Regions from separate parts of the Homo sapiens genome. Here region 1 is linked to region 2. The links are contacts of gene promoters, found by promoter capture Hi-C in blood cells and fetal thymus (Javierre and others, 2016). All regions are on one chromosome and are shown on one strand. Each heading gives the region's core, a stretch centred on a gene start or on the middle of the fragment in contact. The rest is flanking DNA. Distances are from core to core; before and after follow the strand shown. Region 1 overlaps SMG1-DT (SMG1 divergent transcript). Region 2 holds the start of ARL6IP1 (ARL6 interacting reticulophagy regulator 1).

Evidence for each region. Contacts are between HindIII fragments. The CHiCAGO score rates a contact against its expected background, and 5 or more counts as called.
Region 1: a fragment that was not itself captured here is called in contact with the fragment with the promoter of ARL6IP1 in region 2 in 13 of 17 cell types (neutrophils, fetal thymus, activated CD4 T cells and 10 more); the score reaches 12.0 in neutrophils.

The regions. Positions count from the first base shown.
Region 1 is chr16:18,932,599-18,939,645 of GRCh38, reverse strand. SMG1-DT (SMG1 divergent transcript) reads right to left here. Exons shown (of 2, transcript XR_001752094.2): 2 at 2,430-2,790. Among named protein-coding and RNA genes, the nearest start is that of SMG1, 9.7 kb to the right of the region's middle. The HindIII fragment of the contact is 1,530 bases long and covers 1,122-2,651 here.
Region 2 is chr16:18,799,088-18,805,753 of GRCh38, reverse strand. ARL6IP1 (ARL6 interacting reticulophagy regulator 1) reads left to right here and starts at 4,205. Exons shown (of 6, transcript NM_015161.3): 1 at 4,205-4,323. The coding sequence starts at 4,288. It overlaps SMG1 (SMG1 nonsense mediated mRNA decay associated PI3K related kinase), which reads left to right. Exons shown (of 63, transcript NM_015092.5): 63 at 1-894. RefSeq lists enhancers at 3,662-3,901, 4,282-4,361, 4,582-4,701. The HindIII fragment of the contact is 8,806 bases long and covers 1,970-6,666 here.

The DNA.
Region 1 (7,047 bases), core at 637-3,136, 140 kb before region 2:
GGAGGCTGAGGCAGGCGGATCACGAGGTCAGGAGATTAAGACCAACCTGGCTAACACGGTGAAACCCCGTCTCTACTGAAAACTACAAAAAATTAGCCTGGCGTGGTGGCGGGCACCTGTAGTCCCGACTACTTGGGAGGCTGAGGCAGGATAATGGCATGAACCCGGGAGGCGGAGCTTGCAGTGAGCCAAGATCGCGCCATTGCACTCCAGCCTGGGCGACAGAACGAGACTCTGTCTCAAAAAAGTAAATAAATAAATAAATAATAATAATAAACTTGCAGGTCATTTAAAGTGCGGGGTGCAGCATGTAATAAATGCTCAATATATTTTTTAAAAGATCATGAGGCCCCACGCTATCTCTGCATCCTGAACTTTCTGGTGCTACCTCCGGGAAGATTTTACATCTTAAGACATGAGGGCACAACTGGAGTCAGAAATGCCTGGGTTTGGCCCTGGGCGGTGGCTCAGTCTTGTAATTCCAGCACTTTGGGAGGCCAAGGCGAGGGGATCACCCGAGGTCGGGAGTTGGAGACCAGCCTGACCAACATGGAGAAACCCCGTGTCTACTAAAAACACAAAACTAGCTGGATGTGGTGGCACATGCCTGTAATCCCAACTACTCCGGAGGCTGAGGCAGGAGAATTGCTTGAGGCAGGAGGTGGAGGTTGCGGTGAGCTGAGATCGCGCCATTGCACTACAGCCTGGGCAACAAGAGCAAAACTCCATCTCAAAAAACAACAACAAAAAAAATTAGCTGGGCGTGGTGGCGGGTGCTGTAATCCCAGCTACTCAGGAGGCTGAAGCAGGAGAATCACTTGAACCCAGAGGGCAGAGGTTGCAGCGAGACGAGATCGCACCATTGCACTCCAGCCTGGCCGATGGAGTGAGACCCTGTCTCAATAAAATAAAATGAAGTTGGAAAACCACTAAGCCACGGTCTAACTCAAACCCTTGAGTTTGCAGATGAGCAAATGAAGGTTTTGGGAGATTAAGTGCCCTGTCCAATGTCAGTGAGCACATCAATGTTTTACAAATTGGAAAGCGGGGAATAAAAAAGGTACTTAAAACAGGAAGTGGCCCAGAAACTATCACCTACATAATCTCCTGTCCCTTAAGCTTCCCTCCTCCATCATTTGTTTACCTGTAAGAGAAAATTACATTTTCTAAGTGCGCCATGAATATAGATATACTCCTTTCATCCAAACAGAAACAGAGAAGAGATTTACTACAGCATCAAGCAGCACCTCAGAACTCTTTCAGCCTTCCTGGCGAAAATGGACAAAGTTGCCCGGGCGCCGTGGCTCACGCCTGTAATCCCAGCACTTTGGGAGGGTGAGGCGAGTGGACCACCTGAAGTCAGTAGTTTGAGACCAGCCTGGCCAACATGGCAAAACCCTGTCTCTACTAAAAATAACAAAAATTAGCTGGGCGTGGTGGCGGGTGCCTGTAATCCCAGCTACTCGGGAGGCTGAGGCAGGAGAATCGCTTGAACCCAGGGGGGTGGAGGTTGCAGTGAGCCGAGATTGCGCCCGCCACTTCACTCCAGTCTGGGCAAAAGACTGAAACTCTGCCTCAAAAACAACAACAATAACAACAACAACAACAACAACAACAAAAACAGAAACGAAAAGAAATATTTTCGTTTGAACCCAGGAGGTGGAGGTTTCAGTGAGCTGAGATGGTGCCACTGCACTCCTTGGCGACAGAGTGAAACCCTGTCTCAAAACAAAACAAAAACAAAACAAACAAAAAACTTCCGCCCCTTTTTTTAAGTAAAAAGAGTTGGTTTTGTTTGTTTGTATTTTTGGGTTTTTTTTTGTTGTTGTTGTTGAGTTGTAGGAGCTCTTTATATATTCTAGATATTAACCCTTTATCAAATATATGATTTGCAAATATTTTCTCCCATTCCATGCTTTGTCTTTTCACCCTGTTGATGGTGTCCTTTGAGGCAAAAAGTTTAACATTTTGATGTAGTCTAATTTACCTGATTCTTCTTTTATTGCTTGTACTTTGGACTTTGGATATTGTGCTAAACTGAGTTCTTTTGATCAGTGTCTTTATAGTCAGAGAACTTGTCATATAGTCTAAAAGTTAAGCCAACAGAAGGATTCTTCATATTGTAGTCTACTGACCTCTTTTATAGAATCAAAGTGTTTTTTTCTGGAAAACACTGTGAGCTCTTTCTCATGTGTGTTATTAATACTTTTATCAAGTGGGCTTTCTACAAAAACAAAATGGTAATAAGATTCTTTTTTTTTTTTTTTTTTCAAAGAGCTTTCTGAAGTTTGCTAACTTATGAATGCAACCTTCCCTTCTTGCACCGGTCCTGAGCCGTGATTGTGCCACTGCACCCTAGCCTGGGTGACAGAGGGAGACCTTGTCTCTAAAAAAGAAAGAAAGAAAGATGATGAAAGTGTAGCAAAGGGTTATTTACAGAGGGTTTTAGTAAACTAACAAAGAATGCTGCAGTATCCTAGGGCTAGCAACATCAGGGAGCCTGCATTACCTTTAGGCTCAAAGATCAAGGGAGAGAGACAGTGGTTGCTGGAACTTAGAGAAGGCAGCTGGATGGAGACAGTCATATGACAGGAACTGTGGCCTTCAGTAGAGAGATGCAGCAACCTCCAGGTGACCTCAGGGAGGAAGCTTTAGGAATAAGCACCCAGACATCAATGTCTTCCTGTTCTCCCACGTGGCGGTGTTTCCTATGGTAGAACTCAGCCAGAAGACACAGGACAAGGGATTCAGCTGGCACGCTCCATGCAGGTCACTCTCTGGGTTGCAGAGCTGAATGGAGAAAGATGGAGAATAGATTTGCAGGGACCAATGGAGAATAGCAGGTGCACACACATTGTCCGGTCTGGCTTCTCAGCAGCCAAGAACCACCAGTTGGTCGATGTTTGAAGAATTACTATGGGCCGGGTGTGGTGGCACACATGGGTGCTTTGGGAGGCCAAGGCAGGAGGATCACTTGAGGTCAGGAGTTTGAGACTAACCTAGCCAATATAGCAAAACCCCATCTCTATAAAAAACACAAAAATTGGCCAGGTGCGGTGGCTCACGCCTGTAATCCCAGCAATTTGGGAGGCTGAGGTGGGCAGATCACGTGAGATGAGTTTCAGACCAGCCTGGCCAATATGGTGAAACCCCATCTCTATTGAAAATACAAAAATTAGCCAGGCATGGTGGTGTGCACCTGTAATCCCAGCTACTCTGGAGGCTGAGGCAGGAGAATTATTTGAACCCGGGAGGCGGAGGTTGCAGTGAGCCGAGATCATGCCACTGCACTCCAGCCTGGGCAACAGAGGGAGACTCTGTTTAAAAAACAAACAAATAAATAAATAAAAGTTAATCTCATCCAAAAATACCCTCACAGACTGGGTGTGGTGGCTCATGCCTTGTAATCCCAACACTTTGTGAATCTGAAGGAGTAGACTCGCTTGAGCCCAGGAGTTTGAGACCAGCCTGGGCAACATAGTGAGACCTTGTCTCTACAAAAAATTAAAAAATTAGCTGGGCATGGTGGCACACACCTGTGGTCCTAGCTACACCTGAGGCTGAGGGAGGAAGCTCACTGGAGCCTGAGAGGTCAAGGCTGCAGTGAGCCATGATTGCACCACTGCACTCCAGCCTGGCTGACAAAGCAAGACCCCGTCTCAAAAAGTAATGAAAAAAAAAATATCCTCACAGACACACCCAGAATACTGTTCAACCAAATATCTGGGCACCCTGTGCCCCAGTCAATTTGACACATTAAAATTAACTGTCACAATATCCTTCCAGCCTTTTCCTATATCTATATAACATTACATAACATATATATAGATAGCTATAAGTCTATTTCTTTTCTTTATTATTATTATTTTTAAGATAGGGTCTTACTCTATCACTCATGCTGGAGTGTAGTGGTGCAATTTTGGCTCACTGCAACCTCCACCTCCTAGGCTCAAGCAATTCTCTCACCTCAGCATCCTGAGTAGCTGGGACTACAGGTGTGTACCACCATGCATGGCTAAATTTTTTTTTTTTTTTTTTTTTTTTTTTGTAGAGACAGGGTTTCTCCATGTTGCCCAGGTTGGTCTTGAAATTCTGGACTCAAGTGATCACTCACCTTGGCCTCCCAGAGTCCTGGGATTACAGGCATGTGTTACCAGGCCCAGCTGGTGTATTTCTCTTCTTTTTCTTCTTCTTCTTTTTTTTTTTTTTTTTTTGTGTGTGTGAGATGGAGTCTTGCTCTGTCATCCAGGCTGGACTGCAGTGGCATGATCTCAGCTCATAATAACCTCCACCTTCCGGGTTCAGGCGATTCTCCCACCTCAGCCTTCCAAGTAGCTGGGATTACAGGCACCTGCCATCATGCCTGGCTAATTTTTGCATTTTTGTAGAGACGGGGTTTCACCATGTTGGTCAGGCTGGTCTCCAGCTCCTCTGTGGGAGGTGGGGGGATTGCTTAAGGCATGGAGCTCAAGATCAGTCTGGGCAACATAGAAAGACCCCATCTCTGGGCGGGCAGGGTGGCTCACGCCTGTAATCCCAGCACTTTGGGAGGCCGAGGCGGGCAGATCACGAGGTCAGAAGATGGAGACCAGCCTGGCCAACATGGTGAAACCCTTTCTCTTCTAAAAATACAAAAAATTAGCCGGGCATGGTGGCAAGTGCCTGTAATCTCAGCTACTCAGGAGGCTGTGGCAGAAGAATCGCTTGAACCCGGGAGGTGGAGGTTGTAGTGAGCTGAAATCGTGCCACTGCACTCCAGCCTGGGCGACAGAGTGAGACTCTGTCTCAAAAAAAAAATTAATAAATAAAATAAAAAGGCTGGACATGGTGGCTCACACCTGTAATCCCAGCACTTTGGGAGACCGAGGTGACTGGATCACCTGAGGTCAGGAGTTCGAGACTAGCCTGGCCAACATGGAGAAACCCTGTCTCTACTAAAATACAAAGTAGCCAGTGTGGTGGCACATGCCTGTAATCCCAGCTACTTGGAAGGCTGAGGCAGGAGAATTGCTTGAATCTTGGATGCAGAGGTTGCAGTGAGCCATGATCACGCCATTTCACTCCATTCCTGGGTAACAAGAGTGAAACTCCGTCAAAAAAAAAAAAAATCCAACTAGCCCAGTGTATGTTGTGGAATACACCTGTAGTCCCAGCTACTTGGGAGGCTAAGGTGAGAAAATCACTTGTGCCCAAGAGGTTGAGCTGCAGTGAGCTGTGTTTGCAGCACTGCAACTCAATCTGGGTAATAGAGCAAGACCCTGTCTCAAAAAAAATAAAAATAAAATAAAAAAGTAAAGAAAAGAAAGAAAGAAAAAGAGAGAGACTGGGCACAGTGGCTCATGCCTGTAATCCCAGCACTTTGGGAGGCTGAGGTGGGTGGATCACCTGAGGTCAGGAGTGCGAGACCAACCTGACCAACATAGTGAAACCCCATCTCTACTAAAAATGCAAAATTAGCCGGGTATGGCGGCAGGCACCTGTAACCCCAGCTACTCGGGAGGCTGAGGCAGGAGAATTGCTTGAACCCGGGAAGTGGAGGTTGCAATGAGCCGAGATCGTGCCACTGCACTCCAGTCTGGGTGACGGACTAGACTCCATCAAAAAAAGAAGAAAGAGAAAAAGAGAAAAGAAAGAAAGAAAGAAAAGAAAGAAAGGAAAGAAAAGAAATAAAAATAAAATTCTTAGTAAGTGGCTGTTATTAGTTTGACACAAAGGTAAAAAAGATGGTATCTGCTTTTAAATTGAGTAGTACAGGGCCAGGCTTTTATTAGTCCCCTTCCATCCCTGATGTTTGCTGGGAGTAAACACTTCCCCAATACTTGTTGATAATTTGGAGATTAGACTATTATTTTTCTACAATCCTATTATTTTCATATCCCTGTTTCCTTTACCTGAGGTGATGTAATACTCAGCCATCTGCTCCCCTTCATCTAAAAACTACCTTAAGTCCTGCTTTATCTGAGAAGCCTCTTCCAGGGACCAGCAGGGAGGGTCCTCTGAGACGTGGTATGCCTGGGGGATGGTGAAAACACTATGCCAAGCAGTGTGACCTTCAAATTATACAGCACAAAACACTTTATGGAATAAGCCTCCATTTGCTTCCCTGGTATGGGATGAAGAAATCATTTCAGCTAAGACATAGATAGCAGTGTCCCAAAGAAGCTAAATGATCCTATTTCAACTAGAAGTTCTGAAGTGAAATATTTATCCTTCCCTTATTTGGTAGTCTCTTTAACTCTTTAGAGTTAAACTTGCTGGGCGCAGTGGATCACGCCTGTAGTCCCAGCTACTCGGGAGGCTGAGGCAGGAGAATCGCTTGAACCCAGGAGGCAGAGGTTGCAGTGAGCCAAGACTGTATTTTTAGTAGAGATTGGGTTTCACCATATTGGCCAGGCTGGTCTTGAACTCCTGACCTCAGGTGAGCCACCCACCTCAGCCTCCCAAAGTGCTGGGATTACAGGCATGAGCCACTGCGTCCAGCATGTTAAATGATAACTGTATAAACAATAGAGGGCAGTAACTTGCTGTTGGGAGATTTTATTTACATAAGTTTGCATTTTATTTACATATATTCCTAATAATGGATTAATCAGGGAAAGCAAAGGAGTTAGCTCCATTAAAATCACCATGCCAGTCCTTGGGCAGCTCAGGACCAAACATAAGGGAATTTCACTTTCTTGTTTTCTCCAATTTAAAAGTTACAAATAGCTTAAGATGAGCATCACCGGCTTCCTATTTTATTGTTGAAAGAATGCACGAGCCACTGGGCAGCACTTCTTGTGCCCTGATTCATAGAATTTTGGCCCCTGCCTCAAGCTGAGACTGCCCAAGTGGAGATTTCAAATGTGTCATGAGGTTTCTCAGCCAAATTCCTCCTGCACCAGCTTGAAAAATCGCTATAAAAATAGCCCTTACTGAGGGAGCCTGACCTGTGACAAAGATTTCCTAGCTGGGAGCAGGAACAAGAAGGCTGCTGTTTTTCTTTTTGAAAAATCTGCTTTAATGTCTTTATGATGTGGATTTGCTTTTAAGATTGCATTTTAAAAA
Region 2 (6,666 bases), core at 2,956-5,455:
CCCCCATAAGCCAAGGAGGTAGAATTACTAATACAAGGGTTAAAGAAGGTAGATTTTGTTTTCAATATTTGGGTAATATTAGAAAGATTCTTCCCACAGGGAAGAACTAGCAAGTGTCCCAATTTTTTCCAAACGTTGGGGAGGGGAAAATTCACTGTATCATGAAACCCTAAGGGTTTGTTGCACTTCCTGCTTTTTAGGCCTGGATAACAGTATCACCATCCTTATTTACAGAAGGGTAAAACTGACTCTTAATGAGAAAAGCTTTATAAGTTCAAGGGCTGTAAAATATGAACTACTTAGGGTCGTTTGCCTTCCATGGGAACTTGGCTAGACTTAGAAAAAGCTGTTTGTTGTGCTAATGTAAAAGTGTCATACAATTTAGAAGATTTTTGAAGATGGTAAACTTAGAAGAATTCTATGTTCTGAAATGCACACTTTTAGAATGTTTTTCTTTGAAAACAGGCTAATAGTTTTTTCTTTTTTTGACAAAGTTTCAGCTCCTCTTTAAAGTTATTGTGTCATTTTTCTGGTTTAAATTTCCCTTATATTTCCACCTGTAATGTCAGTGGCAACAACATCATACTTCACTTACTTGTTAATTTACTTTTTACCCTTATTCTAAGAGCAAGTTGAGTTGAACTGAATCTTCCTTGTCTTAGTAACAATGTATAAATAGTGGCTTTTCTGTACAAAAGGTTGTAATGCCTCCTGATGGATATAATTTTGTGATTGTATTTAAAAGTTGAATAAATCACACCAGCTTCCTGAAAATGTTCATAATGCATCTTTTGGAAAACAAATACATGCCTACTTTGTGCATATTTGCATTAACATGGCAAAGATTGTATGAAATACCTGTTTTTCAGAAAATAAAGGTTCAGTCTCAAAAGATACAGCATTTAAGTTCTGAATTTATTGGTCAAAATAGATTTTGGAAAACTTGAAACCTTTTGGAACCTGGGTAGCTTGAAAAAACAAAACGACAGGGTCTCCCTATGTTGCCCAGGCTGATCTCGAACTCCTGGGCTCAAGTTACACTCCCACTTCAGCCTCCCAAAGTGCTGGGATTACAAGCCTGAGCCACTAAGCCGAGCCAAGCCTAGTCTTTTTTTTCTGAATAGCACTAATACCTCAAAAAAGACCCCTAAATTCTCAGAAAAGTAACTATTTTATTCTCAAACATCTGTTGTATTTTTGAATAGCAGTAGAAATTCTACTTCAACGATAAAATTCTTTGTGTTAAGGCCCAATTTATAAAGCTTAATTTTGGCAGTATTTAAAAACAAAATTCCCGTAGATCATTATTGACAGATAGGTGCATTCCTTGGAGTGTGAAACCTCTGAAAAAAAATAGAAAATGTCCAGCTTGGCTTTATATCTTGGAGATTGCATTTGTTGCTGCTAAATGAAGTTAGTAAGATTTGTGTTAACTGCTTAGTCATCTGGCACATTTCAAAAGATCACATCCTGTCTCTGTAGGACAAAAACAAAGCTCTAAAGAAAGCTATGTTAAGGGTGGGTGTTTTTTAATAATTAGACCAATCGGAAATTTAGTGAGAGACCATATAGCAGGGCTGTGCATTTAGAAATAGGTATGGGAATACATTGTTAAGTAACAAAAAATACTAAGTGGAGAAACTGCTGTTTCAGTTGCTTCTGTTTTTTTCACCTACCTTCATTTCACAAGCTGGTGTTAACAAGTCTTAAGTTGTGCATGGAAAACTTGGGTGAAAACAAGAAGCATATTCTGCAGCAAAAGCTGATTTCCCAAAAGTAGAAATGTCAGTTTTAAACCCTAATAAAATACCCTCTCTTTTGGAAGTGGCTATTACTGTGGGTCTAGCAAGATCACATACCCAGTGCTCAACATATTCACTAATTATGTGGCTGCTGATTGCTTCGATCTTTTTGACTTTTTTTTTTTTTTTTTTTTTTGAGACAGGTTTTTTGCTCTGTCACCCAAGCTTAAGTGCATAGGTGCAATCATAGCTCACTGCAGCCTCTATTTCCTGGGCTCAAGGGATCTTCCCTGCCTCCCCATTTGTATTTTTTTTTTTTTAGGGGCGTGGAGAAGAACCTGCTCCTCAGACTCCATAGCTTTAAAATCTCTCCAAATAGCGTCTCTGTCAACTGGCTGTATCCTGCCTTTACAACTTCTTTACCCCAACATTCTCCAAAGTGGCACTTTATTGAACAGTCAGCTTCCCTTGCAAAGACTTTTTTTCAAGTGCTTCTCCCTGATTCAGATACTTCACTCCCCTTTCCCCGAAAGACCCACAGCAAATTGACACCCTTCCATGAAATTCACAATGCTCCTGCCCTTGCCCAGCTCTCTTAGGGGCAGTATGTGGTCTGCAGCTATGTTCTCTCACATTTATGACTTCCTTGAACATTTAAGAACCTGGTGGTTACTTAAGGAACATTTTAAAAATAAATTTAAATTCAATGGCCGAATACAAATGACCATGAGATTGGAAGTTAAAACCTGTAAAAAAGATAAAAGGTTGGAAGTTAAAACTATAGTTAATTCACCTGAAACAAACATCTGATCCGGACATTTGGCATGATTCTGTTTGTATCAAACGATGAAAAATCGGCCGGGCGCGGTGGCTACTGCACTACAGCCTGGGCAACAGAGCCAGGCTGTGTCTCAAGAAAAAAAGAAAAAAAAAAAAAAAAAAAAAAAAAAAAGATCAAAGCACTTGTTACTGCATTTGAAATCCTGGATAGAAAAGATGTACAAGTGCCTCAACACAGTTCCTAAACTGCCTAGGAATTCTACTGCTTGTGAGAGGGTTTACATATTTTCTTAGCTTGACCTCTAATGGAAGAAAGGTCGTGTCAAGAACTATCCTTTTGGCCGGGCGCGGTAGCTCACGCCTGTAATCCCAGCACTTTGGCAGGCTAAGGCGGGCGGATATCTTGAGGTCAGGAGGTCCAGACCACCCTGGCCAAAATAGCGAAACCCCGTCTCTATTAAAATACAAAAATTAGCCGGGCGTAGTGACGGGCGTCTGTAATTCCAGCTACTCGGGAGGCTGACGCGCCAGGATCACTTGAACCCGGGAGATGGAGGTTACAGTGAGCAGAGATCGCGCCACTGCACTTCAGCCGGGGCCACGGAGCGCGAGACTCCTTCGTCTCAAACAAACAAACAAACAATTCTGGCCGGGCGCGGTGGCTCACGCCTGTAATCCTAGCACTTTGGGAGGCCGAGGCGGGCGGATCACGAGGTCAGGAGATCGAGACCATCCTAACACGGTGAAACTACGTCTCTACTAAAAATACAAAAAATTAGCCAGGCGTGTTGGCGGACGCCTGTAGTCCCAGCTACTTGGAAGGCTGAGGCAGGACAATGGCGTGAACCCGGGAGGCAGAGCTTGCAGTGAGCAAGATCGCGCCACTGCACTCCAGGCTGGGCAACATAGCGAGACTCCGTCTCAAAAAAAAAGAAAAAAAAAAAAAGAATCCTTTTGGAGAGGGAGCTTGTAGTTTAAGTAACTTAAACATCCACGTATAATAAAGCCACTTAGAAGGCGGTGCATTTTCACACGTTCTCAAACCAGGCCTGGGTTTTTCCGCGCAAGCTAAGGCCTCATTCCTACTGGGTAGGAGAGAAACATTGCAGCAAAATCCACACAAAGAGCTCTTTTCACTTGTCCTCAAAACCTCACGGGTCGCAAATCCGGGCTAAACGGCTCAGGGGCCTGGCTGGGGAACTGGGCCGAAGGTGGAACGGATCCCAGCCACCTCGGGGCCAGGAAAAGATGAAGTGTCGCAGGCCCGGCGTCCCCGCCCTCCGCCTGAGGCAACGGAGCATCTCTCTTCGAGTAGCCCATTTTCCAGAGAGTCTCCTCGGCTGCGAAAGCCAGACGAAGAGGGACCCAAAGCCACCGCAGCGGCAAGAGCCGGAGAACCACTGAGGGACAGCGCCCCCTGCAGAGGCGGTTGAACCGCTTCCCACAGCGCTGGGCGGGGCGTCGCGCAGTCCCTGGGCGCTGATTGGGCACTCCGTGTCCCCTCCCCCTCGGCCCGGCGCTGCCTCTGTCTCCTTTGACCTCGATTTCAAGCCATGCGCTGAGCTTCGGTTGGCCCGGCTTCCTTGAGGCGTAAGCTCGGTCTGTCCAATGAGGAGCGAGCGTCGCGGGGGCCGTCGGGAAGGGCGGCCGACCCATATAAGCAGCCTGCGGGGCGTTCCCTCGGGTTGTGGTTGGTGTGCGGGTTTCGGTTGGAGGACTCGTTGGGGAGGTGGCCTGCGCTTGTAGAGACTGCATCCCCGAGACGATGGCGGAGGGAGATAATCGCAGCACCAACCTGCTGGTGAGTCCTGGCTGCCTGTCCCCCGGGAGCCGAGCGAGGCCTCCAGACGTCCGTGGGCTCAAACACCGCGGCCTCGTCCCTGTCACCCGCCGCGGGCCCGGCCCTTCTCTCCCTGGGCAGGCGACGATGCCTGGCCCTCGGGCTTCTTGGGTGACTCCTGGGTGTCGAACCCTTACCTTTCCTGGGGACGGTGCGCGACGGGGCGAGGAGGGCGCGTGATTCATCACCGCGAGTAGGAGTCGAGGAGGAAGTGGGAGGCAGAGGGGCTGCGACACTAGCCTGGGGTGCGGGTGGGGGCAGAAGGCCTCCTGGGGCCTGTCCAGCGCTTTCGCGGCTCAGGCCCCAGCCGTATTCGGCTTTCCCCGTCTTTGATCTTAACCTGGATGTGCCTGCCTTCTTTTCCCCCTAAAACTTGGACAAGGGTGGAGGGTCAAAGGGCTACTGCCCAGAATTTATCTTAGAGCTGGTACAACTTAAAACGACAGGGAGGCTGCGAGCTCACCGTGGGGAACCGGGAGCGGGGTCCAGCTGAACAGACAATGGGATGTCTTGGCGTTTGTCTGGAATTTGGAAGTCTGGCGGGGGTGGGGTCACAGGACTACTGGAAACAGCTTTAGAGTAATAAGCAGGGATCCGAAGGAACTGCAGTGAGATGGTATCATAGGCGGACACATTTTTATTTGTTATGAATTTAAGCGCACCTTGTGGGCAAAAAACAAGAGAAATATCCTTGCATATTCTCAGTTGCCCTTCCCTGGTGACTGTAGGTCACATACCAGCAATGAAAAACGGAACCAAAGAATTTACTTAGGGGCTTTTGAACTTCCAAGACCCCAGACGCTGGCCAATGACGTGACTTCAGGGCAGTTTTGATTGTGCGTGATTTTATATTTGCTTTTAGAAATGCATGGTTTGTTCCTTTAAACACACGCTCCTTCTAGCATAGTTAGTTCTCAGCGTGGATCTTTTTAAGAGGATTAATTGAAGCACAGAGAAGTAGCTCAAGCCCTGTTGAAATGACAAATCCTGGGCTAGAGCTCCTGCTTCCCAACTCTCCTTCCAGCAGAGCAATATAACTCTAAGGAAAGCAACGCCTTTGGTCGTGGATTTCTTGGATGCAGATCAGTTAACCTCTGTATCTGTTTCCTCCTTGGTAAAATGGGGACAGTAATAACACCTTTTTTTAAGGGTTGTTAGGAAGATTAATTGAAGTATAAATATGAATGCTCAGCAGAGTGCCCACACATAGTAGTCTCTTTCACTAGTATTAAGCATGGAATATAAAGTCAGAAATATTGAGATCACACTAGTGCTCAGCGTGGCACAGATAGCGAGCGTCTTTGTTAAGATTAAGTGCCTTGTTCTGTCATTTGCATGATTTCCAGTGAATGACTTTTACAAAGAGACAAGGTCTCAGCCCAGGCTGGTCCCGATCTCCTGGGCTCAAGCAATCCCCCCCGACCCGCCAAGTGCTGGGTTTACAGGCGTGATCCACTGCATCCAGCCTGATAACATAGAGACACTTGAGTTTCTTATTCTAAATTTTTCTTCCTTTACCAAAACCAGCTTTAAGGGCTTTTGCCACATTAGCTCATCCTAGAGGCCCACTTTCGGCTGTTCAGAGTCAGAGAAATTTGAAGTATAATCAAAATGACATCCTGAGTGGTAAGAAACACTGTATTGAGGAGGTATATTGACCGTAAAATGCCACCTTAATTTGGTGAAAGTAGTTTTCCTTAATTGTCCAATGAATGTCAACATCTGAGTGATTCCATTACACAAAGAGCTATTTTAGAAATTGAATGCTATTCAGGGAAAGTCTTTCCTAATGGATTTAGAAGGGTTTAAATCAATAAGATGACAAAAACAACGGATCAATTCTAACCATCTGAAATAAACAAACTTAAAAAAAGTTATTTCATTTTATTAATACTCTGGGCACTGCCACGATTCCCCGCATGACTTTGAGAAAGTAAACCATTTTGAGCTCACTTTCTTTAATTGTAAATTGAGTCTAATTATCCCTACCTTGTGGCTCTCTGTAAGGATTAAGTTACATCATGTATATAAAGAATAGCCCAGTGCTTGGACTAGAAAAGTGACCATTAAAGGATATTTAGGCTGGGCCTGGTGGCTCACACCTGTAATCCCAGCACTTTGGGAAGACGAGGTGAGTGGATCACTTGAGGTCCAGAGTTTGAGACCAGCCTGGCCAACATGGTGAAACCCTGTCTCTACAAAAAATTAGTCGGGCGTGGTGGCGGGCGCCTATAGTCCCAACTACTCAGGAGTATGAGGTAGGAGAATCGCTTGAACCCAGGAGGCGGAGGCTGCAGTGAGCCG